Regions from separate parts of the Homo sapiens genome. Here region 2 is linked to region 1. Evidence: promoter capture Hi-C in human tissues and cell types (Jung and others, 2019). All regions are on one chromosome and are shown on one strand. The core of a region is centred on a gene start or on the middle of the fragment in contact, and the rest is flanking DNA. Distances in the headings are between cores, read along the strand shown. Region 1 holds the start of FBXO27 (F-box protein 27). Region 2 has its middle 10 kb from the start of PAK4.

Region 1 (5,556 bases), core at 81-2,580:
ATTCGAGGCATCCACACAGACCAGGCGGTCTTCAGAACTTTCAAAGAACAAAGAGGTTAGAGGTTTTTATAAGAAACAGAAATGTTAGGTATTGTTTTGCAAGAAAGTTCATTGACACTAGCAACGTTCTGGGGAGCTGGCAAGTTCTGACTGGTAAGTGACAGCAGAGGGAAAAACTAGTCTTAGAGTCACGGCAGGTTTTTTCAGTACCAGTTAGACTGCTTCCAGGTTACAACAGGCAGTTTTAACAGCCAGGCTTGCAGAGAATCACTTTCTTGGAGCAATGGTATCTGCCCTAAGTGTTTTCCCCCCGGCCTCTCAACTTTGTTTTAGTTGGATATGACAAGAAGGATCCAATTCACATGATCAACTTTCACAATTTTTTTTTTCTGTTTGTTTTTTGAGACGGAGTCTCACTCACTCTTTTGCACAGGCTGGAGTGCAGTGGTGCAATCTCTGCTCACTGCAACCTCCCCCTCCCGGATTCAAGCAATTCTCCTGCCTAAGCCTCCAAATTAGCTGGGATTACAGGCGCGTGCTACCACGCCCAGCTAATTTTTGTATTTTTAGTAGAGACGGGGTTTCACCATGTTGGCCAGGCTGGTCTCGAACTTCTGACCTCAAGCGATCCGCCTGCCTTGGCCTCCCAAAGTGCTGGGATTACGGGCATGAGTCACCGCACCCAGCCACAATTGTATTTTTATTGGACAGAGCTGATCTAGAGGTTAAAATGAGGAATTCCGGAGCTAGGCTGGCTGGATTCAAATCCCTACTAGCTGGTGATCATAGACAAGCCACTTGGCCTCTGCTGGTCTCAGTTTTTTCACCTGTGAAGTAAAGGGCATAACAGCACCTACTTCATGGGGTTGCCACCCTGGCTGGCAGTAAAACCGTCCATAAAAGTTGGCTGGTGTTACTATTGGTTGCATTAATTTTTAGCAGCCGGAGCCTGTTTTCTCCTGTGAAATGAAGATAACCACGCCCGACCTTAAAGGTGATGGAAATTTTTTAACACGTTAACGGATACGAGGCCTCCCACTCAGAAGCCTGACCAAAATAACAATGGTTGCTCAGAGCCAGACGTCTCATTGCTACTAACGAATTAGGGACACTTCAAGGGGCCGGCTGGAGGGGACGGCTGTGAGCAGCAGGCCTTGGCTCCTGGCTGCACCTGGCCCCGTCGCGGGAAGCAGGTTGGGTTTGGAGAGCGGGAGGGAGCAGGCGGGAGGGGCTGGCGAGTAAGAAAGAGGATGCAGGGGTGGGTGAAGCTGGCTAGTAAGAGGGGAGGGGCCGGCGAGTAAAAAGGACGCAGAGGGGCGTGGGGAGCTTGCGGCACAGCTAGGGCATCCCGGCGAGGAGCGCCGCCAGGCCCCGGGGTAGGACTTGGGGTGCGGTGTCGGTGCGGCCGCCGAGGGGGGCTGATTGCATGCAATTCGGGGCATACACACAGACCGCGGGGTCTCCGGGATATCGGGGCTATCAAGGACGGGCTGGGGGATGGGGACTTGGGGACGGGGCCCAGGGATGGTGAAGACGGGGGTGCGGCTGGCAGAATCAGGGCAGGCAGAGGCTGCGCGCCGCGGAGGCTGCTGGTCCCTGACGCCTTGACCCTTCCTCTCCCGCAGCCACAGCCGGGCCTGGCGGGGGGACCATGGGCGCCTCGGTCTCCAGGGGCCGGGCCGCCCGGGTCCCCGCGCCGGAGCCGGAACCCGAAGAGGCGCTGGACCTGAGCCAACTACCCCCAGAGCTGCTTCTGGTGGTGCTGAGCCACGTCCCCCCGCGCACGCTGCTCGGGCGCTGCCGCCAAGTGTGCCGGGGCTGGCGAGCCCTGGTGGACGGCCAGGCCCTGTGGCTGCTGATCCTGGCCCGCGACCACGGCGCCACCGGCCGCGCGCTGCTGCACCTCGCCCGCAGCTGCCAGTCTCCCGCCCGTAACGCCAGGCCTTGCCCCCTGGGCCGCTTCTGCGCGCGCAGACCCATCGGACGCAACCTTATTCGCAACCCCTGCGGCCAAGGTGGGATCTCGGAAGAGGAAGTCCAGGATGCTGGGCCACAGTGGGAGCGGTAGCGGGGCCGGAGGGGCGGGGCCGCACTGGGACCGGTACTAGGGGCCGCAGGGGCAGGGCCGCAGTGGGACCGGTGGGAGGAGTCGGAGAGGCGGGGCAGCATTGGGAGCCGGTGTGAGGTGCCGGAGGGGCGGGGCAGCATTGGGAGCCGGTGGGAGGTGTCGGAGGGACGAGGCAGCATTGGCACGCAGGGTGCAGGGCTGACTGGGCAGGGCTTCACCGTTTGCCTGTGGGAGGGGTGGGAGTGGGGCAGTTCTGGGAGCCCGAGAGAGGGGTTGGAGGGGCAGGGCTTTGCTGCAAATCAGTGAGAAGGGCCAGAGGAGCGGGGCTTTGCCCTGAGCTGGTGGGAGGGGAAGGGGGCGGGGCCTCGGTGGGAAGGGTCAGGTGAGTGAGCTGCACTGTGAGCACGTGGGAGGGGCTAGGGGCGGGGTCTCACTAGGAACCAACAGGCGGGCGACTGGAACTTGGGCACAAGCCTTTTTTATTTCACAGAAGGCCTCCGAAAGTGGATGGTGCAACACGGTGGGGACGGCTGGGTGGTGGAGGAAAACAGGACAACCGTGCCTGGGGCCCCTTCTCAGACGTGCTTCGTGACTTCATTCAGGTGAATGCCCCTGCTATCCAAAGGTCCGGCCCCTTGTTGAGAAAGGCCTGCCTGTTCTCATTACCCTGTCTCCTGCATTCCCAGCTGGTGTTGCAAGAAGCAGGTCTTGGACCTAGAGGAGGAGGGTCTGTGGCCAGAACTGCTGGATAGTGGCAGGATTGAGATTTGTGTCTCTGACTGGTGAGTGTGACGATTAAAATAGCCCCTTGCTAAGCACTGACTGCATGTGACATGGCCTTTTTATGGGTGACTTAATTTAGGCCTCCTAACCCCTCCTTACAGATAAAAAATCTGAAGTTCAGGCCAGCCATGGTGGCTCACACCTATAATCCCAGCACTTTGGGGGGTCGAGGCAGGCAGATCACTTGAGGTCAGGAGTTCGAGACCAGCCCAACCAGCATGGCAAAACCTCGTCTCTACTAAAAATACAAAAAAAAAATTAGCCGGGCCTGGTAGTGCACACCTGTAGTCCCACATACTTGGGAGGCTGAGGCAGGAGAATCACTTGAACCCAGGAGGTGGAGGTTGTACCACTACACTCCAGCCTGGACGACAGAGTGAGACTCAGTCCTGGAAAAAAAAAAGAAAGAAAAGAAACTGAAGTTCAGGGAGGTGAAGTGAAAAACACACTCACAGTTCTAGTAATTAGCAGAGTACACACTTTCTGCTCATGCCCAAAAGGATGTGGATTGGAAGACAGAAGATGAGATCCAGTACAGAGACCTTTGGCCCAGCTCAGTCTTGTCTGTGAATGAATGAGATGCTCCTTGCCTTAGGAGGAGAAAACAGCATAGTTAGCCAAGAGCTTAGGTTCTGGAGCCAGACCTCCCAGATTCAAACCCTAGCTCTGTGGCTTTGTAGCCTTGGGCAAGTCACAGCATACCTCTGTTTCCCCTGTTTACAAGATAGGGCTCTTGCAATGACAATTATTATATGGCAAACACATAGCAAGTACTTTATGTGAGCACCTTTTTTTGAACCTTGATCCTGTGGGAAGGTGTATTTCAAGCCCTCAGATCATTCAGAGCTTCTCAGGAAATTGAGAGGTTGGGAAAGGGGAGATGGCAGTCTGGGCACGGTGGCTCATGCCTGTAATCCCAGCACTCTGGGAGGCCGAGGTGGGCAGATCTCTTGAGCTAAGGAGTTCGAGACCAGCCTGGCCAGCATGGCAAAACCCATCTCTACTAAAAATACAAAAAATTAGCTGGGCGTCATGGTAAGTGTCTGTAGTCCCAGCTACTCAGGAGGCTGAGGCAGGAGAATCACTTGAACCCGGGAAGTGGAGGTTGCAGTGAGCTGAGATGGCACCACTGCACTCCAGCCTGGGCAACAGAGCGAGACTCCATCAAAAAAAGAAAGGGGAGATGACTTGCCCTGGTCTGGTCACACAGCCTGGGCTTGGCAGAACCTGGCATAAGGCTCAGAGTCAGATTCTGACTCCAGAGCTTGTCCTCTGTAGTGATGGTCTTGAAACTGGGGTGCATGAAGACTTTCCAGGGGATATATGACCCAGATGGTTTTATGGGAGTCAAATTCCAGGTCCACTACAGCCATGAGCCCCCTATTACACAATTAATCTGCTATAGGTTACATCTGTGTGGGAAGTATCATATGATTCTCGTTCCCCAATCTCTTTCTCAGTGTCCCCCTTCTCTAGTTTTATAGGAAAAAAGCCCCTCACTAAGGTGTGGTCCCCAGATGTAAGGACTACTGGGGAGCCAGGCAAAGTGGCCATTGGAAATTTGGGGCCTTAGCAAATTCACTTTTTTTTTTTTTTTTTTTGAGACAGAGTCTCACTAGGTGGCCCAGGCTAGAGTGCAATGGTGCAATCTCAGATCACTGCAACCTCTACCTCCCAGATTCAAGTGATTCTCCTGCCTCAGCCTCCCGAGTAGCTGGGATTACAGGTGTGCACCACCACACCTGGCTATTTTTTTTTATTTTTAGTAGAGATGGGGTTTCACCATGTTGCCCAGGCTGGTCTTGAACTGCTGACCTCAGGTGATCTGCCCACCTCAGCCTATTAAAGTGCCGGGATTACAGGCATAAGCCACTGTGCCTGGCCAGCAAATTCACTCTTAATCAAGGCACCATAACCCTATTCCCCAACTCCATCTCATTAAGAGATACATCTCCAATAAGATTTTTTTTTTTTTTTTTTTTTTTAGAGACAGAGTCTTGCTCTTTTACCCAGGCTGGAGTGCAGTGGCGTGATCTCGGCTCACTGCAATCTCTACCACCTGGCCTCAAAAAATCCTCCCACCTCAGCCTCCTGAGTAACTGGGACTACAGGTGCATACTGGCTAATTTTACATGCCTGGCTAATTTTTGAATTTTTTGTTTTTTTGAGACAAAGTTTCACTTGTCACCCAGGCTGGAGTGCAATGGCACAATCTCAGCTCACTGCAACCTCTGCCTTCTGGATTCAAGTGATTCTCCTGCCTCAGCCTCCCCAGTAGCTCGGATTGCAGGTGTGTACCACCACGCCTGGCTAATTTTTGTATTTTTAGTAGAGACGGGGTTTGGCCACGTTGGCCAGGCTGGCCTCGAACTCCTGACCTCAGGTGATCTGCCCGCCTCTGCCTCCCAAAGTCCTGGGATTACAGGTGTGAGCCACCATGCCCAGCCATATTTTCTGTAGAGACGGGGTTTTGCCATGTCACCCAGGCTGGCCTTGAACTCCTGGATTCAAGCAGTCCTTACACCTCTGCCTCCCAAAGTGCTGGGATTACAGGTGTGAGCCACCACGGCTGGCCAGATTTTATTTTTTGTTATTACTTATCAAACTATGTAACATATTTGTGTTGTTTTGATCAGTGGGTACTATTTGATTGTGATAATCAGTGGCTCCCAAATTTTGCCGCACCTCATAAAGGTAGCTTTTAA
Region 2 (5,370 bases), core at 917-3,416, 83 kb before region 1:
GCCCTCTTTTTAAAAATTAACAGATAAAAGTGTATGTATTTAACGTGTACAACACGATGTTTGAAGTATATATACATTTTGGGATGACTAACTCTAGCTAATTAACATATGCATTACCTCACATAACTATCATGTTTGTGTCTGCTTTATTCTTTTTTGCATGGTTTGAGTTTATATATTTTTAGCAATGAGTGTGTTGCTTTCTCACCTGAAATAAAATAAAACTATTACCATTTTTAAAATTTGCTGAAAAGAAGCACTGAAGATCTGGAGGGAGGAAGGGGCTGGGAGGAGGGACTCCTGTCCAAGGAGGGAGCCCATATAACAGAAGCCCTTGCAAAAAACTTCCAAGAGGTTTGTCTCTTTGGCTGTGTTTGTAGGATCTGCGAGTCTCCTTCTCAACTTTTTGCCCACTCCACATGCTCTATTCTCATCTCCCTCCATGTCCCCCTTGCTCAATCTTAGGATGGCCAAATTTAGCCAATAAAAATATAAGATGCAGGCCGGGCGTGGTGGCTCACGCCTGGAATCCCAGCACTTTGGGAGGCAGGAGGGTCACCTGAGCCCAGGAGTTCAAGACCAGCCTGGGAAACACAGCAAGACCCGTCCCCTACCCCTCGCCCCACACCGCTGTCTCTACAAAAAAAAAAAAAATTTAGAAAATTAACCGGGCATGGTGGAACTCACCTGTGGTCCCAGTTACTTGGGAGGCTGAGGCAGGAGGATTGCTTGAGCCCTGGACGTTGAGGCTGCAGTGAGCTGTAATTGCACCACTGCACTCCAGCCTGGGCAACAGAGCAAGACGCTGTCTCAAAAAATAAAATAAAAATAGGCCAGGTGCAGTCGGTCACACCTATAATCCCAGCACTTTGGGAGGCCAAGTTGGGTGGATTACCTGAGGTCAGGAGTTCAAGACCAGCCTAGCCAACATGGTGAAACCCCGTCTCTACTGAAAATACAAAAATTAGCCAGGTGTGGTGGCAGGTACCTGTGATCCCAGCTACTTGGGAGGCTGAGGCAGGAGAATCGCTTGAACCCAGGAAGCAGAGGTTGCAGTGAGCCAAAATTGCACCACTGCACTCTAGCCTGGACAACAAGAGTGAAACACTCCATCTCAAAAAATAAGAATAAAAGAAGAACTCATCCAGGTGCTGGGAGGGTGGTGCGCCCCAACTCCATGGGGACAGAAGCTGCTATGCTCACCCTATGCATCTCTTCATTAAAATATCCTTAGTCATAAACCTGCAAATGTAACTGTTTCCCTGAGTTCTGTGAGCCGCTCTAGCAAATAAATCGAACCCCAAGAGGGGGTCGTGGAAACCCTAACTTGAAGCTGGCCAGTCAGAAGTTCCGGAGACCCAGACATGCGGCTGGGGAGGGAGGGAGCAGTGTGTGGGACTGAACCCTCAACCTGTGGGATCTGAGGCCGTCTTTGGGTAGATGGTGTCAGAAATGAGTTGGAGGACACCCAGCTGGTGTCTGCTGCCTGGTCTGTGGAAGAACCCGCCCCCTGCGTTTGATCACAGTCTATGTTGATGATTGTTGTTGTGGTGTTTCGTTTTGTTTTGTTTTTTGAGATAGAGTCTTGCTCTGTTGCCCAGGCTGGAGTGCAGTGGTGCGATCTCGGCTCACAGCAACCTCTGCCTCCCGGGTTCAAGGGATTCTCCTGCCTCAGCCTCCCGAGTACCTGGGATTACAGGCACCTGCCACCACACCTGGCTAATTTTTGTATTTTTAGAAGAGATGGGTTTTCACCATGTTGGCCAGGCTGGTCTCCAACTCCTGGCCTCAAGTGATCCGCCTGCCTCGGCCTCCCAAAGTGCTGGGATTACAGGTGTGAGCCACCGCACCTGGCCGTTGTGGTGTGAGAGCAGAGAAAAAACACAGTTTCAAAGGTTTTCCCTTCACAGGGGGTCAATGTTTCTTTCATGGTTCTCAGTTGCCATCAACAGAAACCACTTCTGGCTGATTTGAGCAACAAAGGAGTTTAATAAATAAATACTTATTGATGAATGAATCCAGAGCCCCATGGATCCCCCAGCCTTCCCATGAGCTCTCCCCGTGGCCCTGCTTCCCTTTCTGGGACCACCCGCTACCTCCCAACCCCAGCCTGCAGCGTAGGCATCTGTGCGGCCTTTGAAAGCCTTGTGGCGGGGGACGTGGTGGCTCACGCCTATAATCCCAACACTTTGGAAGGTCAAGGCTGGCTGATTGCTTGAGTCCAGGAGTTGGAGGCCAGCCTGGGCACCATAACAAGACCCCATCTCTACAAAAAATACAAAAATTAGCTGGGTATGGTGGCACGCCTAGTAGTTCCAGAAACTCGGGAGGCTGAAGTGGGAGGATCATTTGAGCCTGGGGAGGCCAAGGCTGCAGTGAGCCATGATTGCACCACTGCACTCCAACCTGGGCGGCACAGTGAGACCCTGTCTCAAAAAAAAAAAAAAAAAAAAAGACCTTGCTCAGCTTCGCCTCTCAGAAGCTTCAGGGTCTCTGGCCCTGCAACCTGCAACTTCCTGTGCACGTCACACAGGGCAGGTGTTGCAACCAGTCCTGCGTGCCTGTCTGCTGCGCACCCAGCCACGGGGAGCTCCCGAGGGCTGAGCCTTTATCTGAGTCACCTAAGTCACTGTCATTCCTACTGATAAGCATCCCTCAGTGCCAGGCCCTGTGCTAAGCTTACCTTTATTTCTCATTCCTTCTTTCTTCCACGTAAACCATGTTTATTGAGCACCTACTATATACCAGTGACCAAGGTAACAGCAGGGGACAGAACTGGCAAAAAACAAACAAACAAAAAAACCCTGTTGTCCAGGGAGCTCACATTCTCTTGGGGGAGAAAAGGAAAAAAATAATCAAACATGTATGTATATAGTGGGTCACAAGATCTAAATGCTTTTTTTTTTTTTTTTTGAGATGGAATCTTGCTCTGTCACCCAGGCTGGAGTGCAGGTGGTGCTATCTTGAATCACTGCAACCTCTGCCTCCCAGGTTCAAGCAATTCTCCTGCCTCAGCTTCCCAAGTAGCTGGGATTACAGGTGTGCATGACCACACCCAGCTAAATTTGTATTTTTACTAGAGACGGGGTTTCACCATGTTGGCCAGCCCGATGACCTCCGGTTGGTCTTGATCTCCTTGACCTCAGGTGACCCGCCCACCTTGGCCTCCCAAAGTGCTGGGATTATAGGCATGAACCATCGCTCCCAGCCCTCAGTGTCTTGAAGGAATATAAAGCAGAGAAGGGAGATGGGAGGTGTATGGAGGGTAAAGCTGTTTTATTTTATTATTAATTATTACTTTTTTAAGAATTTATTTAATTTTTTTTTTACTTTTGAGACAGGATATCACTCTGTCATCCAGGCTGGCGTGCAGTGGTGCGATCTTGGCTCATTGCAGCCTCAACTTCCCGGACTCCAGCGATTTTCCCACCTCAGCCTCCTGAGTAGCTGGACCACAGGTGCACATCACCACGCCCAGCTAATTGTATTTTTGCTAGAGACGGAGTTTCACCATGTTGGCCAGGCTGGTCTCAAACTCCTGACTTCAAGTGATCCTCCCACCTCGGCCTCCCAAAGTGCTGGGGTTGCAGGTATAAGCCACAGTGCCCAGCCTTAGGTTTTAATTTTTGTTGGGTCCATAGTAAGTGTATGTATTTATGGGGTACATGAGATATTTTGATACAGGCATGGGGTATCCATCCCCTCAAGCATTTATCCTTTGTGTTACAACCCAATTACACTCTTTTGGTTATTTAAAAATGTACAATTATTATTGAGAATAGTCATCTTGTTGTGTGATCAAATAGTAGGTCTTATTCATTCTTTTTTTTTTAGCCCATTAACAAAACCGAGGCTGGGTGCAGTGGCTCACGCCTGTAATCCCAGCATTTTGGAAGGCCGAGGCGGGCGGATCATTTGAGATCAGGAGTTCGAGACCAGCATGGCCAACATGGTGAAACCCTGTCTCTGCTAAAAATATAAAAATTAGTCAGGTGTGGTGGCGGGTGCCTGTAATCCCAGATACTCAGGAGGCTGAGGCAGGAGAATTGCTTGAACCCAGGAGGCAGAGTTTGCAGTGAGCCGGTATCTCACCCTTACATTCCAGCATGGGCGAAAAAGCAAGACTCCGTCTCAAAAAACAAAAACAAAAACAAAAAAAGCCCATCCCCTGCAGCCTCCCAGCACCCTTCCCAGCCTCTGGTCACCATCCTTCTAACTCGCCGTGTCCATGACATCGTTTTGATTTTTAGCTCCCACAAATGAGTGAGACCATGCGAGGTTTGTCTTTCTGTGCCTGGCTTATTTCACCGAACCTGATGACCTCCGGTTAGGTGGAGCTGTTTTAAACAAGAGGGTCAGGGAGGGTGGCACTGAGCAAAGGCCTGAGGGGGGGATAAAGGGAGTCATACAGATCCCTGGGGGAACAGTGTCCCCGGCAGAGGGAACTGCCAGTGCAAAAGTGGGTGGGGAGTCCAATGCAGAGGCCAGTGTGGCTGCAGCAGAGTGGGCGAGGGGGGTGATTGGAGGGGGTGAGGACACAGGGGTGACAGGGGCAGATCGTCTGGGGCCTCGTGGACCTGAGACGGAGCCACAGGAGGGCTCTGAGCAGGGGCGGATGTGATCTGATGCAGGTGTTCACAGGTGCCTTTGGTTGTGTGTGGGGAACAGACTCCCGGGAAAAGGAGGGAGCAGGAAGTCCAAGGAGTCTGTAGGAAATGAGTGTAGACAGGACCAGGGTGGGGGCTTTGGGGGTGCCAAAAGCGTAGAGAGTCTAGATCGAGCTGGGCGCAGTGGCTCACACCTGTAATTCTAGCACTTTGAGAGACCAAGGCAGGTGGATCACCTGAAGTCATGAGTTTGAGACCAGCCTGGCCAACACTGTGAAACCCCATGTTTACTAAAAATACAAAAATTAGCCAGGTGTGGTGGCAGGCTCCTGTAATCCCAGCTACTTGGGAGGCTGAGGCAGGAGAATTGCTTGAACCCAGGAGGCAGAGTTTGCAGTGAGCCGAGATCACACCACTGCACTCCAGCCTGGGCGAGAAGAGTGAAACTCCATGTCAAAAAAAAAAAGAGTCTAGATCGATTTCGAAGGCAAGGCAAACAGGATTTTCCAGATACTTGGATGTGGAGCATGAGAAAAAGAGGAATCAATATCGATCCCAAGGCTTTCAATCTCATTTAACCCCAAGGCAGCCTCACAGAGTATTATCATTCTTGGGTTATAGATGAAGAAACAGAGATTCAGAGAGGGTTGCCGACTTGCCCATGGTCACACAGGAATTGGTGGGGCTGGGATTTGAACCAGTTTCTGTTTGACTCCAGTGTCTGACCTCTGCCCTCTGTGGAGGTTGCCACCTCCCGGCATGT

Evidence for each region. Contacts are between HindIII fragments. The study calls those that stand out against the background at their distance.
Region 2: a fragment that was not itself captured here is called in contact with the fragment with the promoter of FBXO27 in region 1 in 2 of the 25 tissues and cell types used here (H1 embryonic stem cells and mesendoderm cells).

Annotation. Positions count from the first base shown.
Region 1 is chr19:39,028,323-39,033,878 of GRCh38, reverse strand. It overlaps FBXO27 (F-box protein 27), which reads left to right and starts at 1,330. Exons shown (of 6, transcript NM_178820.5): 1 at 1,330-1,376; 2 at 1,626-2,015; 3 at 2,559-2,670; 4 at 2,755-2,850. The coding sequence starts at 1,652. RefSeq lists silencers at 1,552-1,621, 1,682-1,831, 2,032-2,111, 2,262-2,501, 2,351-2,533 and enhancers at 1,443-2,235, 2,642-2,751. The HindIII fragment of the contact is 13,585 bases long and covers 1-2,814 here.
Region 2 is chr19:39,112,640-39,118,009 of GRCh38, reverse strand. No RefSeq gene overlaps it. Among named protein-coding and RNA genes, the nearest start is that of PAK4, 10 kb to the left of the region's middle. The HindIII fragment of the contact is 4,790 bases long and covers 1-4,561 here.